5 separate regions of the Homo sapiens genome follow, and regions 1, 2, 3 and 5 are each linked to region 4. Evidence: promoter capture Hi-C in 16 types of primary human blood cells and fetal thymus (Javierre and others, 2016). All regions are on one chromosome and are shown on one strand. The core of a region is centred on a gene start or on the middle of the fragment in contact, and the rest is flanking DNA. Distances in the headings are between cores, read along the strand shown.

What was found. Contacts are between HindIII fragments. The CHiCAGO score rates a contact against its expected background, and 5 or more counts as called.
Region 1: a fragment that was not itself captured here is called in contact with the fragment with the promoter of SLC4A9 in region 4 in 3 of 17 cell types (total CD8 T cells, naive CD8 T cells and total CD4 T cells); the score reaches 6.4 in total CD8 T cells.
Region 2: a fragment that was not itself captured here is called in contact with the fragment with the promoter of SLC4A9 in region 4 in 1 of 17 cell types (erythroblasts); the score reaches 5.6 in erythroblasts.
Region 3: the fragment with the promoter of HARS2 here is called in contact with the fragment with the promoter of SLC4A9 in region 4 in 1 of 17 cell types (naive CD4 T cells); the score reaches 5.2 in naive CD4 T cells.
Region 5: a fragment that was not itself captured here is called in contact with the fragment with the promoter of SLC4A9 in region 4 in 11 of 17 cell types (non-activated CD4 T cells, fetal thymus, naive CD4 T cells and 8 more); the score reaches 9.3 in non-activated CD4 T cells.

Annotation. Positions count from the first base shown.
Region 1 is chr5:140,739,321-140,742,020 of GRCh38, forward strand. All of the region lies in intron 3 of LOC105378198 (a long non-coding RNA gene), which reads left to right. Among named protein-coding and RNA genes, the nearest start is that of ZMAT2, 40 kb to the left of the region's middle. The HindIII fragment of the contact is 1,719 bases long and covers 530-2,248 here.
Region 2 is chr5:140,673,968-140,676,518 of GRCh38, forward strand. HARS1 (histidyl-tRNA synthetase 1) reads right to left here. Exons shown (of 13, transcript NM_002109.6): 11 at 1,050-1,166; 12 at 712-858; 13 at 1-361. The coding sequence ends at 290. Among named protein-coding and RNA genes, the nearest start is that of DND1, 1.7 kb to the left of the region's middle. RefSeq lists an enhancer at 1-74. The HindIII fragment of the contact is 340 bases long and covers 1,081-1,420 here.
Region 3 is chr5:140,690,113-140,692,812 of GRCh38, forward strand. HARS2 (histidyl-tRNA synthetase 2, mitochondrial) reads left to right here and starts at 1,343. Exons shown (of 13, transcript NM_012208.4): 1 at 1,343-1,644. The coding sequence starts at 1,537. It overlaps HARS1 (histidyl-tRNA synthetase 1), which reads right to left and starts at 1,258. Exons shown (of 13, transcript NM_002109.6): 1 at 1,103-1,258; 2 at 743-832. The coding sequence starts at 1,192. RefSeq lists enhancers at 965-1,194, 1,355-1,444, 1,525-1,594 and promoters at 1,193-1,643, 1,193-1,314, 1,286-1,312, 1,377-1,693. The HindIII fragment of the contact is 4,332 bases long and covers 1-2,700 here.
Region 4 is chr5:140,358,775-140,361,474 of GRCh38, forward strand. SLC4A9 (solute carrier family 4 member 9) reads left to right here and starts at 1,420. Exons shown (of 22, transcript NM_031467.3): 1 at 1,420-1,692; 2 at 2,038-2,198; 3 at 2,480-2,593. The coding sequence starts at 1,463. The HindIII fragment of the contact is 10,887 bases long and covers 1-2,700 here.
Region 5 is chr5:140,706,084-140,708,783 of GRCh38, forward strand. ZMAT2 (zinc finger matrin-type 2) reads left to right here. Exons shown (of 6, transcript NM_144723.3): 6 at 1-603. Among named protein-coding and RNA genes, the nearest start is that of ZMAT2, 7.0 kb to the left of the region's middle. The HindIII fragment of the contact is 9,003 bases long and covers 1-2,700 here.

The DNA.
Region 1 (2,700 bases), core at 139-2,638, 380 kb after region 4:
GGATATTATAATGTTTATAATCATATTAACTCTAAATAAGGAGAGTTTTATACTCGTATTAACTCTAAACATACAGAGTTTTAACTCTAAATAAAAAAGTTTCATATAAGAAGGTGTATCTTCTCACTCATAAGTGGGAGCTAAGCTATGAGGCTGCAAAGGCATAAGAATGATACAGTGCACTTTGGGGACTCAGGGGTGTAGGGTGGGAAGTGGGTGAGGGATAAAAGACTACAAATTGAGTTCAATGTATACTGCTCTGGTGACGGGTACACCAATATCTCACAAATCACCACTAAAGAACTTACTCACGTAACCAAATACCACCTGTTCCCCAAAATCCTACGGAATAACCTCCTTATACTTTTCCCCTTCTTTTTCTAACCATGGAGAATGCCATATGAACACCTCAGACCTTTATATTTTTCTCTTGTTGTATACACTGGTTAGGCCCTTTGGAACAATGACGACAGGATGATTAAAGTGATGATAGCAGACATCCCTGTCTTGTTCTGGATTTCAAAGGGAAAGCTTTAATCATTTCACCATTAAGTATGATGTTTGCTTTAGCTTTTTTTTTTTCCCCTGGACACCCTTACCAAGTTACAAATATTCTCTTATATGCCTAAGGATACAACTAATATCTGCTAAAAATCTTAAGATTAATTAAGATTATTTTAAAATCATGAAAGGTTGTTGAATTTTATTAAGTAATTTTTCTGCATGTACATAGATAATCATGATTTTCCCTTTAGTTCATTAACTTTGCATATATACTAATTACTTTTATAATGTTAAGTCAACCTCATATCTTGGAGAAATTCTACTTATGCTGTATTATTCTTTTTTATGTACTACTGGATTTAATTTTCTAATAATTAGTATGGGTTTTTTTTCATTTATTTACATTAATGACATTAGACTGGGCTTTTCCTTTTTTGTGTGTATTTTTTACAATAGGATTCACTATCAGGTTATTTTAGCATTAGAAAATCATTTAGGAAGTGTTCCTTCTTATTAATTAGGATAGTTTGTATATGATTGAAATGACTTAATTTTTCTTTTCTTTCTTTTTCTTTTATTGAGACAGGCTCTTGCTCTCTCACCCAGGCTGGAATGCAGTGGTGCGATCATGGCTCACTGCAGCTTCCACCTCCTGGGCTCAAGCGATCCTCCTGCCTCAACCTCTCAAGAATCTGGGACCACAGGCACATACCACACGCCCAGCTAATTTTTTATTTTTAGTCGCGATGAGGTCTCACTGTGTTGCATGGGATGATCTCGAACTCCTGGGCTCAAGCCATCCTCCTACCTCGGCCTCCCAAAGTGTTGGGATTATAGGTGTGAGCCACTGTGCCTGGCCCTAACAATTCTTTGTTAGATGAATATTCATGTTAACATTTTTATGCCTTTGCAAAATATAATTCCCAGCAGAACATGGTCATATACCATGATTGTCTCCTTTTCTTCTTTCTACTTTTCCTGAAGTTAATGCTTGACTTTTCTTCATGTGCTTAGTTTTCCTTGGACCTCTTGTTAATTTTTTGCACATTCTTCAATAACTCTTAGTACAGTTTTCTATGTGGTATATCATTTCAGGTAATCAGAGAAAGTATTAATACAAAAGAGCTATAAGATACCAGAATGTTTAGGCCCAGATCCAGAGAGGAGTAATTGTTGTGGGTTATTACCTAGTAACCAGGTAACAATGAAGCTCTGGTAGCTTTAAAGACCCAAGGCTGGCATTTGGCAGTTTGGGAGGATTTCATGGGTCTGACTCATGTACTGGCTGTGAAAGTTGATTTGAGCTAAAATGACCCCGGTTTGGTCATCTGGGAAGCACTGAGGCTGGTCCAAGACTTGTGGCAGGTAGCCACTGAGTGGGAGGAGGGAGAGTGAGCCTAGACACAGCTGGGGGAACAGTTTTTAGGGAAAGGAAGACATGGGTTTCTCTCAGTGGTGTGCATCCTCAAATGGGGGCTTCCCAAGTTTGTGTGTCCTGGTCTGGAAGTTGTGGTGGGTAGAAGGAAACTTAAAACTCAGCATCGTTCTTGAACCATTCAGGCCTAGGCTGACCCTACTGCCCAGGGTATACCAACTCATGACACTTATCTGTCAAGGAACTCCAAATTCAATCTACTTTCTGCATTATCTCAGTGATATATTTGCATGCTTCTTCCTGTCTGTGTTTTGGGGGCAGGTTTGATGTCCATGGACCCTCTTTAGTCCTCTATGTATGTCCCCACCAAGCTTATCATTTTCTTGGAGATGGGAGAGAGCCCTTTTTCAAGGAGGGGTCTAAAACGGCATGGATTCCTGAGAAGACTAGGCTGGGTCAGGAGCTGAAGAGGTTTAAGGTTGGGACAGAAACTCTGGAGGTTAGCCTTGGTAAGAGTCTTTTGAGACCTACTCCATGAGTAAATCTGCTCTTCACCAAATTTCCAGATCCCCACAGTTCCTCTGAGCAGCTTCTCACTACTGTCATCTCTCCCAGATATGAACCAAATCCCTGGTTGCCAAGACAAGTTGACAAGGTTTGAAAAAGAAACTATTTTGAAACAGAACTTCAAGGAAAAATAAGAACCCATTCTCAGGCAAATCCTAGCAGCTTTGATTAGTAAAGAAACAGCAGTCCTTGTTTGATTCAGACAGTTTATTACTTACATAGACACAAAAGGAAATAAGCAGAATTTCCAGCTC
Region 2 (2,551 bases), core at 1-2,500, 320 kb after region 4:
TGGTGCGGGGCCCTGCAGATGGGACCATCTCAGGCTGGGTCCTTGTAGCCCAGGAGCACAGACTGGACTAAGCCTCCTGGGCCTTGTATGAAAAAGGTGTTGTACCTGGCCGTTTTTGCCAGTAATAATCAATAAAATAACCATAATAAAAATCAAAGGCTCTGTTCTGACCACTCTTCAGGTCTTCCGCTGAAACGGAAAAGTGCAAAGCAATTGAAGTACATATGCAGTTTGTCTTAACCTCAAATAGTGCCAGTCCCACTTCCTTTCCTCTGATAGTTTGTTCAGTTCAGCAGATGCAGAGGGGCTGGCCTGTTCTCCTTTTGATTTCCTCCACAAGGTCTTCTCTTCGGACATCCACCTGGCCAGGATGGGAGAAGAAGGTGGTATAAGCATCTTCCATTCCACTGCTCCCCGAGTGCCTAGTTTCCTCTAGCCCTCTAGGCATCAGGCTTGTCTCAGCTGGGAGCAGGAACCTAATTAAACACCTCAGGCTAGAGTGTGCCTCTTGGGGGAGCCAACAAACCATAAGGTATATGCAGGGATGGAGATCTCACCCTACTAAGACCACAGTAACAGGTTAAGCCCTCAAGGCTTTTATGAGTTGTACTAATATCAATGCCAGGCTTTTTCTCAGGTCTTGAATGGGCATGGGCCTGCCAAAATGGCATACATTCTCTGTCCCTTAGCCTTCCTGCCCACCTCCCTCACCTCTTCCCTGCTCGTCACTGAACGGAGCTTGATGACCCCATCCTTGAGTTCCTGCTCGCCGATGATAGCCACCAGTGGGATGCCTGCCTCCTCACAGTACTGTAACTGGTTCAGTAGCTTTGGGTTCTTCTTGTACAGCAGCTCAGCCTGCAGGGGACAAGAGCAGAAGATGAAGGCTGGCTTCTGCTGTCCTCAGGGACAGAGGGTGTCCAAGCTGGCACCCTGTTCTTAGCTCTACTTTTGAGAAGTAATGGCAGGATCCATTATGGGTGAGCTTTTATTCAGTTTGTGTCCAGCACACCTAAGTTTGCTGCCACCCTGGGGCTTGCCTCCCATACCTTGATCCCAGCATCCCACAGTTCTGAGACAAGCTTTAGTCTTTCCTCTAGCAGCTTCTTCTGTGCAGATGCCACAAGCACCTGTGTCTCCGTGGTCCGTATCTTCTCCTCCAAAGCCTGGGGAAGGGGCAGATAAAAGAGAGCTGGGCTAACACCTTCAAGGAGCAAACAAAGCAGGCTCTAGTCGGGATTTTGAGACCAGGCCCAACTCAGCTCTACCAGGGCAGGGGCCCTGTCTTCTCATCTAGCACCTTGGGCATAAAGGTAGCTTTTAGTAGATATGAGGACTGAACTGACTGACTTGTACATAGGACGTATCAGAATAAATAACTTAGGGCAAGAGTAAAGGTAGCTTTTTTACAGTAACTTCAAGCTTATCTCCATGTAGTACCTTTTTTTTTTTTTTGAGACAGGGTCTCTGTCATCCAGGCTGAAGTGCCGTGGTGTGATCACTGCAGCTTCGACCTCCCAAGCTCAAGTGATCCTCCCACCTCAGCCTCCTGACTACAGGCACACACCACCATACTCAGCTAATTTAAAAAAAAAAAAAAATTTTTTTTTTTAATCTGTAGAGACAGGGTCTCATCATGTTGCCCAGGCTGGTCCATGTAGTACCTTAAGGGTCCACCAAAGCATTCACACAGAAGTACTACTATGAGCCCACCCCAATTAGATCACCCTTGACAGTTTTAGTCCCCACTTACTATCTACCCATTTATGACACTGTGCCTCTCACACTTCAGTTACAGGGCACAGGCGTGTATATGGGTGTGGGGAAAGGAGAATGCTGCTGCTGCTTCCCTTGTCTTTTTCAGGAAAACTATTTTCATAGTTCTTAGAATGTAAGATGCCTACTGGAAAAATGATCTCAACTGGGAAATGGGTGGTTTCCACCCTAGAGAAAAGGCATAGGACTGTGGGGAGGTTGCCAGAGCATTTCCCAGAAGATGAAATGCAACCAGCCACTTAAGACCAGCAGCAACAAAGGAGGGCTTGAGGCTACAAGAGGCTTCCTTGGTGTTACTCTAGGTGCTAGAGAGTCACGGTAGCCATCTGAGGGATCCCAGGGCCTCAGACACATGCTTCCCATTTAGAGACAGTATTGCAGTGTGGTTAGTGGCAAGACTTTGGAGTCAGACTGCCTGGATTCAAATTCTGACCCTACCACTTACAAGTTTCATGGCCTTAAGCAAATTATTTGATCTATAATGCTTCAGTGTTCTCATCTGGAAAATGCAATTAATAAAATTAGCTACTCTCACAGGGCTGTAGTAACAATTATATTTTGATAATGCATGAAAAGCACCAAGCACAGTGCCTGGCACAAGGCAGTAAAATGTTAAGTATTCCGTATCATGAGGAAGATCTAAGTCTTGGATACACCAGCCCAGGTTTGTGACAGCCCTGAAGGAAGTAGAGACCCAGAGCAGAGGATTGAGTGCAGAAAGATTATGGATTAAAGATCCATAAAACTTACATATAATGGGGTAGAAATCTGTGAA
Region 3 (2,700 bases), core at 93-2,592, 330 kb after region 4:
AACCTTAATTTCTTTATATCATTTTTCACAATATGTAATTACATAACCACATGTGGTGGCCGGGTGCGGTGGCACACGTCTGTAATCCCAGCACTTTGGGAGACTGAGGCGGGCAGATCACTTGAGGTCAGAAGTTCAAGACCATCCTGGCCAATATGGTGAAACCCCGTCTCTACTAAAAATACAAAAATTAGCTGGGCATGGTGGTGGGCACCTGTAGTCCCAGCTACTCAGGAGGCTGAAGCAGGAGAATCGCTTGAACCCAGGAGGCAGCGGCTGCAGTGAGCCAAGATGTGCCACTGCACTCCAGCCTGTGCAACAGAGGATACTCTGTTTAAAAAAAAAACAAAAAAATCTGTGTGGGATTATTTGTTCTAAGTCTCTCTCCTTCAGTAGAATGTAAGCTCCATGAGGGTAGGCTATATTGTCCACCATGGTATATATTCAGTGCTTTGTATAGTGCTAGAGACATAGCGCTAAATACACATTTATTGAATGAACGAAGGAGTAGCAGCAGCAGGCTGACTCCCCTGATCACCCAGCTGGCCTAGTTTCTGCCATCACTTTGCCATCCCAGAATGACTCAGGTAGAGTCCAGTCCAGCCCAGCGCCCAGAGCGACTGTCCTCTCCTCTGCAGCATTTCAGATCCTCCTCAATGACCTGGTTTAGGGAGGCAGACATAAGCGCCCCGTGAGTAGAGTTAGAGACTTTCTCAGTGGCTCCCTACAGGAATGATATTACCTTGGGGGTTTTGAGCACAAATTTCTGTTTGCTTTCATCAGGACCCAGCTGTGCCTTCAGTTTCAGGAGTTTCGCCACCTCCTCCTCGATCTGTGGAGGGAAAGAAGGCGCTGAGCTATCCATCTGTCACTCTCCTCCCTCCCCCGCCATTCATTCAATATTCCTCCCTCATCACATCTCTCTGCTCAGGCCTAGCTTTGTTTCTCTCGGGACCCACCCCGGATGTCTCCCCACGCAGCCCACTCTCCTCCCTACAAGACTGGTCGCTTCCCTCACATCTCTACCCTATGTCCCGAACACCCTGGCTTTACGTCCTCCCAGGCTTTGCCTTGGCCCTCTCCCCTGCTGCCTAAATCTCACCAGCTCGGCGCTGGCCTTCTGCTGCTTGAGGCCTCGCACGCGCTCTCCCTGAAGTTTCACCAGCTCCTCCAGCGCCGCACGCTCTGCCATCCCGGCTGTCCACTTGAGCCGCCTGCTGTCTCGACCTGCGGTGGTTGCCCCAGCCTCAGCAAGGATGACTTCCGGCTATCGAGTCGCTGGGTCGCACGCCTAGAGAGCCTCCGCCGAGCACAAAAATTATTTCCGGCTCCTCCCGGAAGTGCCGAAGCTGGCTACTAAGGGAACTTGGGAGGATCCCACCTCAGCCTTCGTGACTAGTGAGGTGCGCAAACGCCCGAGTTTTCCCTGGTGCGCGGGTTCCGCCTTTGCAGTGCCCTCCACCCTTCCTGGTGTCTGACCCGCCTCCTTCCCAGGCCTTTTGTTCCTGTCCCGGAAAGCCGGCGTCCTGCCGCGCGATGCCCCTGCTCGGACTTCTTCCCAGGAGGGCCTGGGCTTCGCTGCTCAGCCAGCTCCTGCGACCGCCCTGCGCTTCGTGCACCGGGGCGGTCCGTTGCCAAAGCCAGGTGAGCGAGACAGAATTATCTCTGGTCTGTCCCAGCAGGGTCTCCAGATCTGAACGCATAGCCTCGCGGCCTGTATTCCAGTAGTGTTACAATCGGTTTTTATCGAGTGCCCACTATGTACTGACACTGAACTAAGCGATTTGGATGCCTGGTCATTTAATCCTTGGAGCAATCTTGAGAGGTTGGAGTTTTGATTTCCATTCTGCAGTTGAGGAAACGGAGGCTGCAAGATTAAATGAATGACTTATACACGGATATGTAGTAAGGGAGTATTTTAATTCATATCCACACTTTTTCCTGAAACTCTTGGACTCAAACAGTAACATTTTTAAGCGAAATATATGAATATTCCTAGTAAATGAGATGACTAAAGATCAGAAGTAGACTGAGTTCATCTTAGAATTTACCTCAAAATGAATCTCAGAAAAACATTTTCAGATGTCAGAGAGTTTTGGATTTTGGAATTGCAGATAAGGGATTGTGTACTTGAACTTGGACTTCTCTTAGGGCAGATAATCGCCATAGTATGGAACCACCACATCCTCTATTTTTGGAAGGGCATACAGCGTGCTGGTAATGTCACTGATTAAGTTTTGCCTTACTTCGGAAAGATTCTAATGCTCTCTTAGCAGATGCTTTGTGCTATCGTGAACAATAGGGCACAGATCTTTTATTGATATTCAATCACAGCATCTTATCAGTCTGAGTTTTTTAGCTCATTCAAGAAATCCATATCTTATCATTCCACAGGCTTGTTCTGTGTCCTTGAGCTGGTTCCCTTGTCTTCAAGTTACAGTTTTCCTCTCTCTAAACCTGATAACCAGTGCTACCTTATTAAAAATTATTATTTTTTTGTCCGGGCACAGTGGCTCATGCCTGTAATCCCATCACTTTGGGAGGCCAAGGGGGGTGGATCACCTGAGGTCAGGAGTTTGAGACCAGCCTGACCTGTATGGCGAAACCCCGTATCTACTAAAAATACAAAAATTAGCCGGGCGTGGTGGCATGTGCCTGTAATCCCAGCTACTCGGGAGGCAGAGACAGGAGAATCGCTTG
Region 4 (2,700 bases), core at 170-2,669:
GAACCGAAGAGTAATGTGGCTCAACTGCCTTTTGAAAGGACATGTATGGTGTGGAGGATGGACTTTGGGCAAGGGAGGAAGAGTGGAAGCAGGGGGGTTATTACAAGAGACCAGGAAGCTACTGAAATAATTCAGGTGAGAAATGATGGTTGTTTGAATCAGGGTAGCAGTGCTGGAGGTGGGGAGATGTGGTTGGATTATGGGTATATTTTGAAGATAGAGTCAACAGGATTTGCAAATAATGGACCACATTTTCCTTTGCTCATTTAGCTCCAGGAACTCCTTCACTTACACCCCCTAGTGGGCTCCTCCATCCTCACAGGGCAGATCCCAGGGACACAGCTAAATTAGGGAATTCCTAAGTGTTGTTGGACAAAAGAATTTAAGACTCGTTAGCTGGGCAGCCAGGCACAGTGGCTTACGCTTGTAATCCTAGCACTTTGGGAGGCTGAGGCGGATGGATCACCTGAGGTCAGGAGTTTTTGAGACCAGCCTGGCCAACATGGTGAAACCCTGTCTCTACTAAAAATATAAAAATCAGCCAGGCCTGGTGGCACATGTCTGTAATCTCAGCTACTTGGGAGGCTGAGGCAGGAGAATCACTTGAACCCAAGAGGTGAAGGTTGCAGTGAGCTGAGATCACACCACTGCACTCCAGCCTGGGCGACAGAGCGAGACTCCGTCTCAAAAATAAAATAAAATAAAATAAAAGACTTAGCTGGGCATGGTGGCGTGCACCTGTAGTCCCAACTACCTTGGAGGCTGAGGTGGGAGGATCACTTGAGCTAGGAGGTCAAAGGTGCAGTGAGCTATAACTGTGCCACTACACTCCAGACTGGGTGAGAGAGTGAGACCCTGTCTCAAAAAAAAAGAAAAGAAAAGAATTTAAGACTCAGACACTAGGTCTTCCACCATTATCCCATTTAATGGGCAGGTCCTCTGCCTGCTATCTCCCTTACCCTGTCTGGCTTCCATGGACTCAATTATTTATTAGGTCCCTGTTTGTCCAAATAGGTGTGTCTGTGGCCCCAGGGGTGTGTTGGTGACACCCAAAACAGTCCTGGGTGTTTGGTATTTATATTTGATACAAGTGAGGGGGGCAGCAAAATCTGGGGGTACCAAGTCCTCAGACCCAAGCCAATCATTTACTCCTGTTTCTTTACACAAAACACAGTGGGATCAGACCTGATACCACAGGAAATGCACATACACATTTTGGCCCCAGGTTGGGCATTTCTGGAGAGCCTGGGAAAGGCCAGACTAGTCTTACAAATACTCTTATGCCAGCAGGGGGTGGGGTAAGCAAGTAGGGGAGTAGGTGACCGGTAGAGTCTGGAGTCAGCAGGCCTTGTTCTGTTTGTGTTGTGCTGCAGTGGGGGATGCATTATAAATGCAACCAGCCAGAGGGCCCCTGGCTTCAGAACCTAGGACTGTACTGGTTCTGAGATTCTGTGCAAGCCTCATGGAAATGAAGCTGCCAGGCCAGGAAGGGTTTGAAGCCTCCAGTGCTCCTAGAAATATTCCTTCAGGGGAGCTGGACAGCAACCCTGACCCTGGCACCGGCCCCAGCCCTGATGGCCCCTCAGACACAGAGAGCAAGGAACTGGGAGTACCCAAAGACCCTCTGCTCTTCATTCAGCTGAATGAGCTGCTGGGCTGGCCCCAGGCGCTGGAGTGGAGAGAGACAGGCAGGTAAGTTGGATGCAGGCCAGTTCTGTGGGATCCTTCCCCTTCCCCAGCTGGAGCCTCCTATATGTCCCCCAGCGCTTCTTATGGGGCTGCCCAAAATTAGGATTTTCCCAGCTGTGTTCCCTTATTTCAGGGTCTTACCTTCCATGATGCCCAGCCTCCTCTGCAGTCTAGTTTTGAGATCCCCAAGACCCTAGATGAGGGGTGACTGCCAGGGTGGGGGGGAGACTTCACACCACTGGGCCCAGGATGCCCTCATTGCCTTGCCTTCCCTAGCTCCTCTGCATCTCTGCTCCTGGACATGGGAGAAATGCCCTCAATAACACTGTCTACCCACCTTCATCACAGGTGGGTACTGTTTGAGGAGAAGTTGGAGGTGGCTGCAGGCCGGTGGAGTGCCCCCCACGTGCCCACCCTGGCACTGCCCAGCCTCCAGAAGCTCCGCAGCCTGCTGGCCGAGGGCCTTGTACTGCTGGACTGCCCAGCTCAGAGCCTCCTGGAGCTCGTGGGTAGGCTGGGATCCTTTGCAGGAAGGGCCTGGGTAGCCATGCCTTTTCCCCAGGATTTCCCCTCCAAAGTCTTGAAATCTTCCAGAGCCCATCCCTACCCCTCCTAGGATTGTCTACCCTTGTCACAGGGTGGACATGGAAAAGCAGGGTGGAGGAGCAAGTTCATTGGCCCTGGCATTCTGAGACTCCCAGAAGGGAAAGGTGTCTGGGCAGAGGGAGAAGGGGAAGAGTGTGCGGCAGGGAACTCTCAGGAAGGAGATGACCCCCAATCCATTCTCCAGAGCAGGTGACCAGGGTGGAGTCGCTGAGCCCAGAGCTGAGAGGGCAGTTGCAGGCCTTGCTGCTGCAGAGACCCCAGCATTACAACCAGACCACAGGCACCAGGCCCTGCTGGGGTGAGAGCCCCTCCCTGGGCCCAGGACCAAGACCCTGGTGTGGCAGGGTCTCAGATCTCCCCTGCACCTTCCAGGGCTAGAAGTAGCCCAGGCTTAGTTCAGGCTCC
Region 5 (2,700 bases), core at 159-2,658, 350 kb after region 4:
ACCTCTTGTCTGAACATCCCACCTTTATCCTGTGTTCTGCCTTTGTTTTAATTTTAACTCATGTTCATCCTGCAACAGAAGCATTCTCTAGGTCCCAGTTTCCAGTTGATTGCATATCCTTGATCAGCCCTTTTTCCCATCCTGCCCTATGGTTCTCTAGCCACCTGTGCATGCATGTGTATTTCTGCCTGGTTCTATGGTGTGTGGATGTGTGTGCATGAATCTGTCATATAGAGGGGGTCCGAGCTGGAATCCTAGAGCATTGCTGCCCTGGGGCCTGATGTTCTTGGCTTCCTCAGAGCATGTAACAGGAAATTAAATGGGATGAGTGTTTGGTGTGGTTTGTGTCTGATGAGTTTTTTAACATTCAGGTGTAGATTGTTTCAGCTTCTCATGTTTCATTTTCCTGAAGATTTATGTTTTTGTCTACCTTGTGAGCAGGCTTTTGGAAGAACCTGTTTGATGCAAAAAAGAAAATGAAAAACAAAACAAAAAATCCCCAAAACCTTATTATGGGAGCCCGTCGGTCTTAGAAGCTGTTTGACATGTATAATAAATGGCATTGACTGGGCCTGTTTTACATTTGGTGAGAACATTCCATAATCTTCCCTGTGAATATTTGTTTTTCCTTCTCATGCTGAGGATTTCCATATAGAGTATTTTATTCTTCCATTTTAAATCTTATTTTTGCCTAGGTTTTTTTTTAGCATGAGTTATGTTTTCGTCTGATAAGGGATCTATGTCCAGAGAAGTCTGAACCAAAACGATTCCTATCATTTCAGACTCCTTTGATCTTTTGTTTTTGGAACAGCAGAGCTCAGGATTGAACATAATGTTTTTTCTTTTTTTTTTTTCTTTTTTTTGAGACAGTCTTGCTCTATCGCCCAGTCTGGAGTGCAGTGGCGTAATCTTGGCTCACTGCAACCTCCGCCTCCTGGCTTCAAGTGGCTAATATTGTATTTTTAGTAGAGATGGGGTTTCACCATGTTGGCTAGGCTGGTCTCAAACCCCTGACCTCAGGTGATCCACCTGCCTCGGCCTCCCAAAGTGCTGGGATTACAGGCGTGAGCCACTGCACCTGGCCCTTAGTGTTTTTCTTACTGTCTGCTAGACACAGAATTACTTAATTTTGGCACTGTTGAGATTTTGGGCCAGATTATCATTTGTTGTAGAAACCAATGCTGGCATTGTAGGATGTTTATTATTTTGATTTTGATTTAGGATTAACTTCATCCCTGGACTCTACCTGCTAGATGCCAGTAGCACCCTCTTCCACAATTGTGACAACTAAAAATGTCTATGCCTCTGAGAAAGGCAAAATCCCTCCCTACCCACATTGAAGACCACTAAGAAGAAGCTAGCTGTCTTCCCTACCTTGGTCTGATTTGAGAATTAGATGGCACAGACTGGCAAACTCAAAACAGAAACTCACAAAACTTTGATATCCACTGGATCAAGTACTATGCCAAGTCAAGGGGATGCAGAAGAAAAAAATAGCCATACATACACGAAGAACTACAGTCACATTAACTTCAAGCAGATGAAGCCTGTAACTTGCTGGTTCTATACCCTGAAAAAATGGACCTGTAAATGAATCTGTTTGGGTTAACAAGGCTGCCACCATATAGCTGGTTTTCATTCTCTGCCCCATCAAGCTCCTCAACTTTCTGTATTATCTGAACCACAAAGCACCATACACCTCCCTTTGGACTTTTGTACAAAATTCCCTTACTGTAAGACATGCCCTTTGTCTAATTTCTGATGCTGAATCTTGCCACTGGGAACACTGAATGTATCTTCACCTATGGGCTGAAGGCCTGGCTCAGTTTTAGATACAGTAAGTACTGGGCAACTGGGGGCAGATTGGTGCGTGCTTTCCTTGGCAGGATTATGTGCACTTCAGGTCCCTTGGGTGACAGTCTTCTTGTTGACTAGGTATTTTGTTACCCCTTTCAAGGCAGGCTGGAGGTTTGTGAGTTCCTTCCATGGTTCAGTTTTTTTTTTTTTTTTTTTTTTTTTTTGAGAGTGTCACTGTCACTCAGGTTAGAGTACGGTGGCACGATCTCAGCTCACTGCAACCTCCACCTCCCAGGTTCAAGTGATTCTCCTGCCTCAGCGTCCTGAATAGCTGGGATTACAGGTGGCCGCCACTATCCCCAGCTAATTTTTTTGTATTTTTAGAAGAGATGGCGTTTCACCGTGTTGGCCAGCTGGTCTTGAACTCCTGACCTCAAGTGATAGCCCTCCTCGGCCTCCCCAAGTGCTAGGATTACAGGCATGAGCCACCACCCCTGGCTTCATTCTTCAGGAAACCATCTAGTTCAATTTAGCTTCAAAGAATGTCTTTCCCTTTTTGGTACAGTGGGATCTTACCTCTGGTTGCATCTAAAAAGCAATTCTGAATTTAAGAATCTTTAAACTCTTGGGACTGGTTAAGTGGTTTGAGTCTCAAAGGGACCTAAGTCATGGAGTGTCTGGAGGTGCTCAGGGTGGCATCTTGGAAAAGTAAATGGAATGGAAATTCAAGAGCCCACAGCAATCCCAGATAACTCAGAAATCTCAAAGAGAAGCTGCTTTCAGGTCTTTTTTGAGACAGTCGCTCTGTTGCCCAGGCTGAAGTGCAGTGGCGCTATCTCGGCTCACTGCAAGCTCCACCTTCCTGGTTCATGCCATTCTGCTGCCTCAGCCTCCCGAGTAGCT